Linked DNA regions of Homo sapiens: all the other regions are linked to region 1. Evidence: promoter capture Hi-C in human tissues and cell types (Jung and others, 2019). All regions are on one chromosome and are shown on one strand. Each heading gives the region's core, a stretch centred on a gene start or on the middle of the fragment in contact. The rest is flanking DNA. Distances are from core to core; before and after follow the strand shown. Region 1 holds the start of TAF4B (TATA-box binding protein associated factor 4b). Region 2 overlaps KCTD1 (potassium channel tetramerization domain containing 1). Region 3 has its middle 170 kb from the start of SS18.

Region 1 (4,644 bases), core at 1,608-4,107:
AGGCATTTGCATATTATAAACAATTATAAGAAAAATGGGTGGCTCACGCCTGTAATCCCAGCACTTTGGGAGTCTGAGACAGGAGGATCACTTGAGTCCAAGAGTTTGAAATCAGCCTTGGCAACATATTGCCGAAATTACTTTTGCACCAACCTAACAGTTAGACCGTTGTCTTTGCAAAACAAACAAACAAGCAAACAAACAAAATTAGCCAGGCATGGTGGTACAGCCTGTGGTCCCCAGCTACTTGGGAGGCTAAGGTGAAAGGATTTCTTGAGCCCAGGAGGTTGAAGCTGCAAGTGAGCCATGATGGCCTCACTGAACTACTCTGGGTGACAGAGACAGGGATACCCTGTTCTCCCTTGCACGACCTCACCCCCACCCAGCCCTGCCCTGCCGAAACACACACACACACACACACACACACACACACACACATACACCAGAGAGAGAGAGAGAGAGGGAAATGCATGAGGTTAACTTTATGAAAAAATATAGTTCCCCAACCAAGTCTCTTTGTAATTTGATGGTGGAGGTTAATTGCCTATCTAAACAAAGTGTGTGAATTGATGGTGGGGGTCTAGTGGAAATTTAGAAAGGGAGAGTTCTATAAACAAACTTTGATGCTTCCGTACCCAAGTATCTATTGAAACATACTATATGGAGGGAAAAAAATCGGGGATAATTTGGCCAGTTAGTGAAGAACATATCTAAGATTCAAATACACTACACCATTTTGCTTCACTGAAAATGTTGCATAGCTTCATTCAATTCATTACCTTAGCAAGTATTTATTAAATGCCTTTTATGCTCAAGGCATTTTGCCAAGGGCACTGTGGGATACATGATTAATCAGACGTTTTGGAGTAATGGAAAGAGATGTACTTTGGCATCATACTGATGAGTTTGAATTCCAGCTTCTTGGAAACATTACTCTTTTAACTGCAGTTTTTAAGTTTGTAAAATGAAGCAGTTAGAAAAAGGAAATGCATCTCTTGGTGACCAGCACACAGGAGGTGCTCAATAAATTGAGTTTTTCTCTCCCCAACTCCACTTTGAGGCATTTGCTAGAAGGTAAGTGATCAGGGAATTCACCATAGAAAGGGAGGGTGATTGGTTTAGGTCATGAGATGGATTTAGACTGGTCAAGAAGTGAGAGACAGTAAAGGTAGTAAGTGTGTGGACTTTACTAGATCTTGTGAGTAGATCTTATCTAAACGTGCCGGCACACGTTTACAGAGAGGGGGAAAAGCAGGAGCTGTAACCATCAGGTTGCCTGCTATTTTAGTCCACTCGGGCTTCTATAATGAAATATCATAAACTGGGTAGCTTATAAAAAGAGAAATTCATGTCCCATAATTCCAGAGGTTGGGAAGTTCAAGATCAAGGCAGATGTGGTATCTGATGAGAGTCTACTTTCTAGACAGCAGTCTTTTTACCATAACCTCACTTGCTGGAAGGGGTGAGGGATCTTTCTGAGGTTTCTTTTTTTAAAAAAATTATTTATTTAATGTATTTAACTAACAAATAATAATTGTATGTATTTATGAGGTATCATGTTACATTTGTATGTGTCGTGAAATAATTAAATCAAGTTAACATATTCATCACTTTAACATGATTTGTCCTGAATGGAATCCCATTCATGAGGGCTCCACCCTTATGATCTAATCACCTTTCAAAGGCCCAACCTTCTAATATTATCAACTCCAGCTTTAGCATTTTAACACTCAGTTGGGGGTATAATCCTAGCACTTTGGGAGGCCCAGGCGGGAGCTCAGGAATTGGAGACCAGCCTGGACAATATAACGAGATCCCGTTTTTGCTAGGCATAGTGCCGCTCCCCTGTGGTTCCAGCTACTCGGGAATCTGAGGTAGGAGGGTAGGATGATCACTTGAGCCCAGGAGGTGGAGGCTGCAATGAGCCAATGGTGCCACTGCACTCCAGCCTGGGTGACAGAGTTAGATCCTGTTTCCAAAACAAAACAAAACAAAACAAAACAAAACAAAACACCACAACATTCAGATCATAGCATCTGCCTACTTGTAAAATCGCCTTTCAGTGCAGTGTTGGTTCCTACAAACATACAATATAATGACTTTAGCTTGAAATTAAGGCATCTTCTCTGACTGCATTACAAACAGGCAAGTTTTTTCATATCGATTCACTCAACACCTTTTATTTATCCAGATAATATCTAGGATCACGCTTAATATCTAAGTGCTAGAATCTAATTATATAGATATCAAAAGGCATTAAGTTTTTCAGAAGACAGACATACAATTTTAATGTTTAGAGGTGATAGAGACACCTATAGCAGCACCAAAGAAGAAACGATTTTCCATTTAAGATTTTAGGCAGTTTAACTCTAAAATATGAAAATAGGCACATCTCACAGACTATAAAACTATACGCCATTTTAATTTTTACAATGTCAATTCTAACTGCGAATTTTAGCAACGCTTCAGTGTGAAGACAGCAGAGAAAAACACTGAAAATGCGTGATTGAATTCTTATTGAGTCACTCTTCTCGGAAATCAGTCCTCCCCATTTTCTCCTTAAAAAATAGAATCCTGGAGATAGTCTAGTGCTGGCTTTTCGAGGAACACACTACAGGGGACACAAGGAGAGGAACACGGATGCCGCAGTTTTCCAAGTGCAGCTTGCCCCTCCCACGTGATAGGTTTCTGGCATCGCCCCTCCTTGCTGGCGATTCTGGGGAAGATTTTAACGCTCCCTGGAGCCGTCCCCAGTGACGTCACGGGCGCGGCTCCGCTCCTTGGCCAATCACGCGGCCGGATCCCGGGGAAACCCGGGGCGGTGGCGGCGGCCTGGGCGCGTGCGCGAGGTCTCCGCGTGGCTATATAAACATGGCTGGCGTGGCCGCGCGGCGGGGCCGTGCCAATCGCGCGTAGGGGGCTGTGGGCACTCGGGGTTCGTAGTTTTGAAATTTCTGGCGGGGGAGCAGCTGCGCAGTTAGGCTCGAGGTGTGAGCGACGACCTTCCGGGAGCCGCAAGTCCAGGCTCCCCCGCAGCGGGACCCGAGCCTGAGGCGCAGGGCTGAGGCAGCGCACGTGTGAGCGCCGCTGAGGAAGCTGCGAGAGGTCGGGCGGGTGTCGCTCCGGGGGCAGCCCAGGCTCGCGCGGACGAGAGGAAGGTCCGGGACGCGCGTGTCCTGCCGTGCAGCGGGCGCCCGTCACTGACTTCGCTGCTGCGGCCCCCGCGCCTCTCCCCAGCGATGCTGTGGAACCCGAACCGCACCGGAGTCGGCTGCCGCGCGCCAAGCCTCCCCTCACCTCTGCTCCCGGAACCGCAGCGCCAAAGCTGCCGCTGAGCCCCTGGGGGATGCCCGCCGGCCTCACCGAACCCGCCGGCGCCGCTCCCCCGGCTGCTGTGAGCGCCTCGGGGACCGTGACCATGGCCCCGGCCGGGGCGCTGCCGGTGCGGGTGGAGAGCACTCCGGTGGCCCTGGGCGCCGTGACTAAGGCTCCTGTCAGCGTCTGCGTGGAGCCCACGGCGTCCCAGCCCCTGCGGTCCCCCGTGGGGACCCTGGTGACCAAAGTGGCTCCGGTCAGCGCCCCTCCTAAAGTCAGCAGCGGCCCTAGGCTGCCTGCTCCTCAGATAGTCGCCGTGAAAGCCCCCAACACCACGACAATCCAGTTTCCTGCTAATTTGCAGCTTCCTCCAGGTATGTTGATAACCCTTTCCAGCCTTGTCTGTCGGTCCAGCTGGCGGCGACGGGAAAATTCGCAGCTCCAGATTGCTCCTAAAAAAACTGAGCCACGGGAACATTTCATAATCTTGACTTTACAGTTAACATATTCTTTTTGTGTCATTACTACATAGTTTTTCTTTTCATATTTAAGGAAAGAATCTTTTCACCTAAGTGATACAGTAAAAAGCTACATCAGCGTATTCGGGGGGGCTTTCAGGCACTGGCTCTTAGGTGGAGGAGATAATATAGCCGAAGTTAATTTCCATGTGGAGGATGGACCGGTTTATACCGTGGATTTCCATACGCTTAGATTATGTAGAAGTGCGTTGTACTTATTTTATTAATTATGAATGAATGAATGAACGAATGAGGTATGGTTTCGCTCTGTCGCCCAGTCTGGAGTGCAGTGACACGATCATGGCTCACCGACGTCGAACTCCTGGGCCCAATCGATCCTCCCGCCTCGGCCTCCCAAAGTGCTGGGATTACAGGCGTGAGCCACCGCGTACGGCCTAACAGTGAAGTTCTTGTGTATTACAACTGAAAGAGATTTTTAAATTTAACCAAGTCAGAATCGGTTTACTGCTTTCTAGTACCAAGTACGAATAATGCTGTTCCTGCACAATCTTTAAATGTCTTATGATTCTAACTTTCAATTAGCAGAACCCCTGACTGGGAACACGTGCCACAGTTGACAAACAGATCAGTCATGCAATTGTTACAGTTGCAATTGAAGCCATGTGTCAACGCTACTGTTAATGAGTCTTTCACTACTTTCTATCCTAGGGCTTTTTACTCTATTGGGCTGTATTTCATGGTTTGTATAAAGGTTTTGCTTTGTGATAATTTACATATTGTAAATATGCTGAATGATTTTGGGGTGTTCAGCCTTTCTTTACTGAAAGTCTCTTGGAGTTTGCTTTCTGTT
Region 2 (4,644 bases), core at 1,442-3,941, 320 kb after region 1:
TCTTGATAACATTTTCTTTTCTCTAGCTTACTTTATTGTAAGAATACAGATGATACATAAAGCACACAAAATATGTGTTAATCAACTGTTTATGGTATTGGCAAAGCTTCTGGTCAACAGCAAGCTATTAGTTAAGTTTTGGTGAAGTTAAAAATTTGTTAAAAGCAGTGTTTTGACTGCAGGGGGTTGGTGTCCCTAAGCCCTGAGTTGTTCAATGGTCAACTGTAATTCAGGGTGTGAATGAGTCCAGATACTCCCAGGAAAGGTCTGGATTATGAAGAGCATTTTCAAGTGGCATTGGCTCTATCTTCCGGTGGAGATGGTGCTGCAGGGTTGGAGGTGCAGAATGGGCTGGTGGAGTGGGGGTCACTAAGAAGCTTGAGTCCATCCTCAGCCCTCTCCTTCCAGGTCTCTCCAATTCCCTCAGCTATCCAGGGTTACATAAATGAACTCATCACTAGAGGCCTGCACCATCTTCCTGCTGCCCTGCAGCCCACAGGATTAAACACAACCAAAGTCCCTGCCTGGAGAAAGAGGAGCTGAATCACACACCTCAGGATGGAGAGGGTCTTCAGAGAAAGGAAATTCTCATTGGGGGTGAAAATGTTAAAAGCTAGCCCAAAGCACACTACGTACATGCAGGAGTTGCCTAAAAGCACATATGATTAAAAACTCCAAAGAAAACGCAGACACTTTTCACTTACGATACTGTAAGATAGCTCCCACCTCTGTTATTTTTGAAAATTCTGTTACCCAAAGCTTGGGCAAAATTTATGATATCCACCCCTGCCAAATAAAAAAACCCTGTCTGTCATGAATGAAAGTTTGCTGTCATATGTAAGTGGATCTTTTTTAGGGAGAAAGAAAAGGCTCTGTCAGGTTGCTATATGCTATAAGCTAAAAGGTAAGAAGTCTGGCTGTAAAGAAAGTGTTGAAAGGAATTTGGAGTATCACTGAAAACCCAGAACATGCCTCATTAGGTTCAGCTTCCTGTAGTGCTAGTGTGGGCATTGCAGGGTCTGTCATCCAGTTTATGGTCATGGGCATTAGATAACACAACCTCATATTCAGGTTTAATCTCAACCCATACCCTTTGCTGTAGTGTATCTCGAACAGCTGAAAAGATCATTTATTTCTGGGCCATCTAGAAGCTCATGCTGTCATAAAGACTCAAAACCATTCAGCACCCATCTTCTCTTGAAAGAGAAGAGTAGGCAAAGGAACAGTTTTCATAAATCTGAAAATCCAAAAGAACTTTATAGGGCCCAAAACTTTAAGAGTTCACCTGTTTCCCCTCTGATGATCATGTAGCAAGCAGAGAATTATTTCAGCTTTAAGGGCATAAATCCACTAATTGCCCAGCCTCTATGAATCCCTCTTGAGGGCAAGGACTGAATCCTGCTCCTCTCTGCAGCACTTAGCAAGCAGAAAGATGCTCAGTTAACAGTGGATGAACTGAATTCAGCATCTTAGAGCACTAAAAACGTTAATTAAAGAAGTGTGCCTGTGCAATGTTTCAAATGTTAAAGCTACGTTTTCTTTCATGTTAGTTTATCAAGGTCAATCCATATCCCCTTTTTTTGAACCAATTAATTCATACTACCTTATCCCTTATATAAATTCTCCAAAGAAATCTTTAAAAAGGCAACTTGACTATTGGTACAATGCAATGAATGACAGATAAGTAAAATCGATTCTACAAATAAAAGTTCTAACATATGACAGACCTACAGATGACTAGTTTACATGTACGTTCCTAAGACTTCAAAGACACATACTACACAGGAACTCCTGTATCGATTCTGCTTTCAAAATGGCAGTTAAAACACCAAAAGGTGTCTTGAAACTCAAGTTTTATTGGATAACTGAAGTAGGGCTTTGACTGGCCTGGACCCACCTGGATGATCATCCAAGTGGTCTCACATATAACTAGTGGTCCTCGGAAAACAAAGGCTTCTTCCTGCTTGAAAACTACTTAGTAATGACAAGAGGGTGGCCTTTTGGTGACATTTGCTTGGGGAGTCAAATTTTAAAATCAGGGTGATACAAAGATTTAAGTTTTGGATGAATGGGATCCACTTTCTCCCTGGCAACAAATATTTCTTTTTCTGTTTCATGGGTCAGCTTGAGTACAGAGTGAACTGACATCAGATATGAGTTTATATCAATTTAAAATAATACTCCTGAATACTGGTTACAACATTAATATGTGAGTGCATGGAAGAGAATATAAAGGTACAGATTTCTTTCCCAAAATGACTGCTGCAAAACACTGAGTGCATCACCTTTTAACTGTCTTTATTTTGATCTAGTTTAAACAGATAAAGAAGCCAAAATTTTGCCAATGAGACTACTTGCCAGGTGGAAAACGATTAATTTATAGACTCCTGGTACAAAAGCCAAAACAGTAGGCGCTCAGTAACTACTTCCTGAATGAAGAAAGTTATATACTTATGTACAAAACATTTAGTTTCTCCACCAACTTGAACTTTTCATAAAGGAGAGCAAACATTCTTGCAGTAGAAAAAGGAATGTAGCCACAAACTAATATTGAAAATCAGAAAAATACCCACTCTTTAAAAGGCAGTTAATCTTAATAGCTCCAAATAACCATGGCAAGAAGTCTTGTTACAATCGCTATACTCCTTTCATGTTTATAAAAATTTGATTCCATCTATAAGAAATAAAGAACATCCCTCCCTCTTAGTCTTCAAATTCAAAATAGGACCTTAGCAGTTATTTCAATAATACATAAAATGCATGCCTTTCACTATTAAGTAGATACATTAAATATTCCTTCTTCCTTGCCCCTATAGCACCTGAGTGGATTCCCTGAGCTGTCAGCCTCTGGCTTCTCCTCAAAGGTAAGTTAATGAACAACTAACTGTGTCAGCCTGCTTGCAGCCTGCTGCAGTTTCCACTCTGCTAACTATAAGGACCAACGGCCCACACTGAAGACAATAAAACACAAACAGGGGATGTGTACCAGCCCCCAAAATCTTTCCACTAATAGATGTCCTCTCTACAGAATTCCTTAAAAGTATTTCTGGAAATAATCTAGGTTAGGGTCAAGCAAGTGCAACTAAAGACACCTTTGTCACAGCTTGCAAATGCTTCACACTTTTGTTTAGCACAGGAGAGAGACATGTCTACAAAAACTGTAGTGACAAAACTATGACATTCAGAATCTAAACTTTATTAGTATTTTCTCCTCTGAGAATGATAAAGAACAAAATTATAAATCTCTATCATCCCTCTAAACTGAAGTACTGTTCTCTGAGGTAGGAAAAATGCTCTATTTTTATGCAAAGAGAATAGTTATAAGGATGGACGATACAGTGGTAAGCAGTTTAAAATGGACTACATGACCTCCACCTGGCAGCTTGCAAACCGTACCAATAACTGGATCATTTTAGATCACAATAGCTATTTGGGGGACAAGGGAACTAAAACTACACTTTACTTTTAACACAACCATTCAAGAGAATTAAAGAGTGGACCAGTTAAAGCGACCATCACAACCATCGCCATAATTCCTCACTCCCCCCAAAAGCCAGATACTTCACATGAGCAATCACACATTCCATAATCTTTGTTAATCCTTGAATGCATTCATTTTTTAACCAGTCCCATAAATAATATACTTAACAACACCCTCAAGAAGTAAAAAGAGTAAATGCATTTAAAGAAGCAGGCTCTTCATCTTTAGGGAAACTTGCAACATTAGTAGAAAATCAAAACATCAGTGTGTGACCTGTCTGTTATCGAGATGTCTCTAAGATGGTCAACAGTGGAATTCCGTATGACACTACTTGATAAAGTCCAGTCAGTATTAGGCTAGAGAGCCTATGTTTATGATTAAGTAATAATGACTGAAGCTGGAGCTGCACAGGGCATTTCCTGCGGATTAATGACCAGCCAGAAGAGTTGATGACCCAAAGCAATGCCACAGGCCAGCAACCTCAGCTAGGCATTAAGCCCCAGGAAATGCACTGAACCTCAACTCTTACAGTGATTTTAATATACAAAGAAGGAAAAAGTTTGCTCTCAGCTTTCTACTGAGCAATACTTCGACTGCTCAGACTTCATAAGTGAAAAGCTGACTACTAAAAATGTGCAAACTGAAAACTTTTTGTAGTGTTTTAACTAACAGGGACTTGGAGCTAAGATCTTGTTTGAGAGCCATAATAATCATATAAGCCATATATGGACACTCAAATCTATATTTAACTTAGGAGTTACCTGACAATAATGCAAGAATAATAAAAGCATCAGTATACAGTTTTTTGGAACTGATTTATTTTACTCAGGTAAATAAAAGATAATGACTGAAAGACTGCATTCCTTAGAACAAAACAAAACCAATGAAACGAAACCCTCTTATATTTTGTGGTTCTTTACGTCACAATTCTATATTACACTGGTGTCAAGAAACCAGCAGACAGATGCCAGTAGACAAATGGTTTCATTGTTATCCCAAGGCCATGCACGCCTTAATAAACTTTCTTAGACTTTTAACTCTTAATTAATCAGGTGCTATTCTAAATTAGGGCATTTCAAGGGTTTTTACTGTATCAGAAGAATATGAACATTTATTTTTGCTTTCAAAGAAAAAGCAAACCCTAAATTCTCCTCTCCATTCTT
Region 3 (4,644 bases), core at 1,584-4,083, 310 kb before region 1:
ATGATTTACAGTTCCCACAGGGCTGGGGAGGCCTCAGGAAACTTACAATCATGGCAGAAGGGGAATCAAATACATCCTTCTTAACATGGCGGCAGCAAGGAGAAGCGTAGAGTGAAGTGGGAGAAAAGCCCCTTATAAATCAGATCTCCAGACAATTCACTCACTATCACAAGAACAGCACGGAGGTAACCGTCCCCATGATTCAATTACCTCCCACTGGGTCCCTCCCACGACATGTGGGGATTATGGGAACTACAATTCCAGATGAGATTTGGATGGGGACACAGCAAACCACATCACCTAGATTGATCTAACTGAAAATATACTCTGCCAGAATTTCCTTATCATTTTAAATGCTTGATGTATCCCACACAACTTCCCACTCAGAGAAATACTAGCAGCCATTGCACAGGAAGAGTCTGGACATGCAGACTTCACTTCTGCAATACAAAAAAAAAGCACTGGATTGCTGGGCCTGGTGATGAAGCTTCTTGGGAGGAAGGTGGTGCTCTTTAAGCAATTTAAAAAGACATTTCTTTCAGTGGCTTTGGTCAAGGCTTCTCTCTTAGCTCTCAGAATGCCTGGCTCATAAAGAAGAGCCCCAGGAATTCTAAAGTCATTGGGAGCCTGTGCAGATCTGAGAACAGCCTTCCCACCCTCATCCCCTGCCTCACCCTGTGCATTTTTCCATCTCCCAAGCTCTCTTGTTTTCTGCACTTTTAAAACTTCTTTATATTTATTCTAGTAGTAGCCTGCCATGCAATAAAAGAATGAGGGAATCTCGTTAAAATTATATCAGAAGGAAAAAGATGGAGTAGAGCTTGAAATTCCTGCAATCTACACACAATAACCTAATCAACTAGAATACACAGGTTAAATGGAGTCCACCCTATGGTGAACCTAGAAGATTGAACTCCCTCCCGGGGAATTGCTACCTTCGGGGCACCTAGTGGTAGCCATATTAAAATGCAGGCATGAAAATACCTCACATTTTAGAGCACTTTTAACTTTCCTACTCACTTGCACAACTATTTAGTTTACTGACTTCGGTACAAAGGCCCAGGAAGGAGGAAAAGTTATTGCTATTATCCCATTTTGAGAGTTAAGGCAAAAGAGGCAGTGAGGTTTCTCTGAGGTCATCTCATTAGTGGTGGGATAAATCCAAGCCAAGAGTCCAGTCTTGCTTCTTCCCACATACCCACATCTTCTCTTACTTAAAATGAACCCAGGCTGAAACATAGTCAGATGACTGACCTAACAACTGTACAATCATCTTTCTCTCCCTCAGCTTCTAGTTTGAATTTGACATGAGCCTGAGTAAGCAGGAGATCGCAGTGTTTACTCAGAACTAAAAGTGACATCTTATAAATCTGCCTTAGCCTGGAACTGAAAAGGACCCAATAATCCCACAGATAGTTTTTTGGATAAACATATAAATTGACCCTGCTGGTCTTAAAGCTTGAACCTTACATTTGTTGTATCTGTTTTTTCCTCAGGAAAGGACCTTCAAGCCTGTCAAAAAAAAGTATCAAAGACCTGAAACTCACCAGATCACGGCATCCAGACAATGAGATGCTGGACCCCTCCTTCATCATCATCCTTCCTTGCCCCTCCCTAGCTCTTGTTTTCATTTCCTCCCTCCTGTATGAAACCCTACTTTTAGTCGGTCAAGGAGAGGATTTGAGACTGATCTCCCATCTCCTTGGCTGCAGCACCAAATTAAAGCCTTCATCCTTGGCAATACTGATCATCTCAGTCATTGGCTTTCTGGGTGGTGAGCAGCAGGACCTAGACTGAACCCCTGGTGTCTCAGTAACAGAACCACAGGAGTGGCAGGAGGATCAGAAGTCCATATGGACAGCAACGCTGACTGTCCGGAAGCAGGATAAACACCCTGCTAAATGTGAACCTATTCCATACATTTACATGTCCTCTATGTACAGAACAATATGTCCTGACTATAACTACATTAAGTCATAGTAGTTATAGTCAGGACATATTTTCTCAGTCAAAAGATATTAAAAGTTTAATATGTGAGGGCAGTGGGGAGATTGGCAAATTTTTTTAGCATTGAAAAAGGGCCCACAGAAGGTAAAAATCACAACTTCAGACTCTTTCTTGGCCGACTTCCACTCAAAATTCACCATTCCTGATTTCCATTCCTTCAGGGGCCTGATCTCTGCTTTAAAATGATAGTAAGCTAATATGATAATATAATATGTATTAATAATTTAATGCTTACCCTTCCTAGGTAATATATGTGCATTTTTAACTGAGCTGTTTTAGACAACACACTTTAATCCAAAGCAAACTTTCTAACCCACGTTTCTCTAGTGATGACCTGTCACCTGAGTCCCAGACCTATATATTCTCAGCTTACTAAACATTTCCATTCAAACCTGCCAGAGGAATTGAAACTCAATATGTCCAAAATTGATCCTCCACTTCTATCCTTCACCTCAGTCAGTGACATCACCAATCATTCACTTAAAGCCAGAGACCTGGGAGTTATTCTAGGTTCTTCACAACCCCACCCCAGCCAAGAGCTGATCCAATCTGTCTAACTCAGCATCTCCCAAATGGTGTTTTATGAGCATCGTGTCAATAGGCAAAATACTTTCCCTGATCAAACAAGTTTGGAAAACATTGGTTAGACAAAGTTAAACCTTTTTTATAGAACTAAGGGTTTCTAATATGTTGCCCTGAATTACAAATATCCAAAAAAGAAAATATACCACCTAATGTTCCAAACTCATTTGCCCAGGGAACTCTTATTTTCTTTGCAGAGTATATTGCAGGATCTATGTATTACAGAACATACTTTGAGAAATGCCATGATCAGATATTTTTGAACCGTGTTTTATTATCACGCATTGTCTCATGCAATTTCTGTGTTGTAGATAAGTAGTGTTGTAACAGTGTACATATAAGAAACTGAAAGTCTCAGGCATTACACGACTTGAAAGCCAGAAATGTGAATGAAAATATTTTGTTACAAATATTTATTGAGAAATCCCAGTCAAAATATCACTGGGATTTGGGGGCACTTCATGAAGTGTGCTTATGCTTAAGAGTAAGAGAAAGTCCAAAAGAATCCTAAACAAACAGCTGGCAGGAGCGATGGCTGGAATGTGCTGTTAAGGGTGGGGTTTTGGGAAGGTGGTTCGAGGCTTATTTTCCACTGGTTTGTATTGTTTGAATTTGTTATAGCAAGCTTATGTTATGTTTATAATTTATTTTCTTAAAACATCAATACAGAAAAAAAAATAATAAACAAATCAAATGCCTGGCTGGTGATAGTACTGTTTTAAAAATCCATCTGAAAGAACGAAAATGAAAGAAGAGCCAGACATTCTTGGAAAGTGTAAGAACTTGTGCTACCAATTATTACAATGTACTTAGAGCTGTAGTCATTTTTTTTTTCCTGAGATGGATTCTCGTTCTGTTGCCCAGGCTGGAGTGCAATGGCGCAATCTCAGCTCACTGCACCCTCCAACTCCCAGGTTCAAGGGATTCTCCTGCCTTAGCCTCCCGAGTAGGTGGGATTAGAGGTGCCTGCCACCACACCCAGCTAATTTTTGTATTTTTTCTAGAGACAGGGTTTCGCTCTGTTGGCCAGGCTGGTCTCAAACTCCTGACCTCAGGTGATCCGCCTGCCTCAGCCTCCCAAAATCCTGGGATTACAGGCGGGAGCCACCATGCCCGGCCAAGCTGTAGTCATTCTTAAAGTGAGCTAGTGGCACAGGTATATAGACCAACAGATGAGTTAATCCAATAGAAACTCCACAAATAGAGGCAAGGAGATATTGGCACCACACTCTAACCAATTGAGCTAACAGGCCATCGTGTGAGGCAAGCAGACATAAAAATTTAGTAGACGATTAAGGTGGCATTTTAAAGCAGTGGTGAAAGGAAAACTCAATTTTACTAAATTTTACTAAAACGATAGGGTAGCTATGTCCCAAATAAATAAGCTTGAATTCCTAACTTATTTATTATACTAAAATAAATTCCACATAAATCAGACTTAAAAATTATTATGAAGCCTTGAAAATAATAAAAGAAAACATAGGTAACTATTTTTATAATTCCAGTTTTGAAGGAAGCCTCTTTAAATGTATACAAAAGCCAGAAATGATCAAATCAAAGACTGTACATTGTACAACACAAAAATTCTCTAAAACAAAAAAGATCACTGCAAGGTGATTTACAAACAACATATAGAAGAAAATGTTTGCAGCATAAATGACAAAAAGTTAGCATATTAATATATTAATATAAAGCCCCCTGGTAAATCACTAAGAAAAAGAAGACTACCAGTAAACCACAAAAAAAGTATAAGCCCAAATTTCCTTAATTTAGCCTCAATTAAAATTAAAGTGAAAATCAGAGATCATAAGGTTTTGTTTGTTTTTTTTTTTTTTTAATTTTTTTAAGCGCTGGGGTCTTGCTATGTTGCCCAGGCTGGTCTTCAACTCCTGGGCTCAAGCAATCCTCTGGCCTCCACTTCCCAAGTAGCTGAGAGTGCACACCACTGGGCCTAGCTACAGATTTTTAACAGCAGGACTATAAAGAAAATATTGAGAAAAACCACTGAACAAGTCTTTCACATTTTATTTATAAAGATAAGGAAGAAACCTCAAG

The links. The method cuts DNA at HindIII sites, captures the fragments that hold promoters and counts their contacts. A contact is called where the count stands out against the background at its distance.
Region 2: a fragment that was not itself captured here is called in contact with the fragment with the promoter of TAF4B in region 1 in 1 of the 25 tissues and cell types used here (dorsolateral prefrontal cortex).
Region 3: a fragment that was not itself captured here is called in contact with the fragment with the promoter of TAF4B in region 1 in 2 of the 25 tissues and cell types used here (lymphoblastoid cells and spleen).

The regions. Positions count from the first base shown.
Region 1 is chr18:26,223,588-26,228,231 of GRCh38, forward strand. It overlaps TAF4B (TATA-box binding protein associated factor 4b), which reads left to right and starts at 2,858. Exons shown (of 15, transcript NM_005640.3): 1 at 2,858-3,689. The coding sequence starts at 3,347. RefSeq lists enhancers at 2,488-2,557, 2,588-2,687 and a silencer at 3,338-3,497. The HindIII fragment of the contact is 12,633 bases long and covers 1-4,644 here.
Region 2 is chr18:26,540,690-26,545,333 of GRCh38, forward strand. The region is part of intron 1 of KCTD1 (potassium channel tetramerization domain containing 1); the gene reads right to left. Among named protein-coding and RNA genes, the nearest start is that of KCTD1, 5.5 kb to the right of the region's middle. The HindIII fragment of the contact is 6,485 bases long and covers 1-4,644 here.
Region 3 is chr18:25,915,179-25,919,822 of GRCh38, forward strand. No RefSeq gene overlaps it. Among named protein-coding and RNA genes, the nearest start is that of SS18, 170 kb to the right of the region's middle. The HindIII fragment of the contact is 3,722 bases long and covers 973-4,644 here.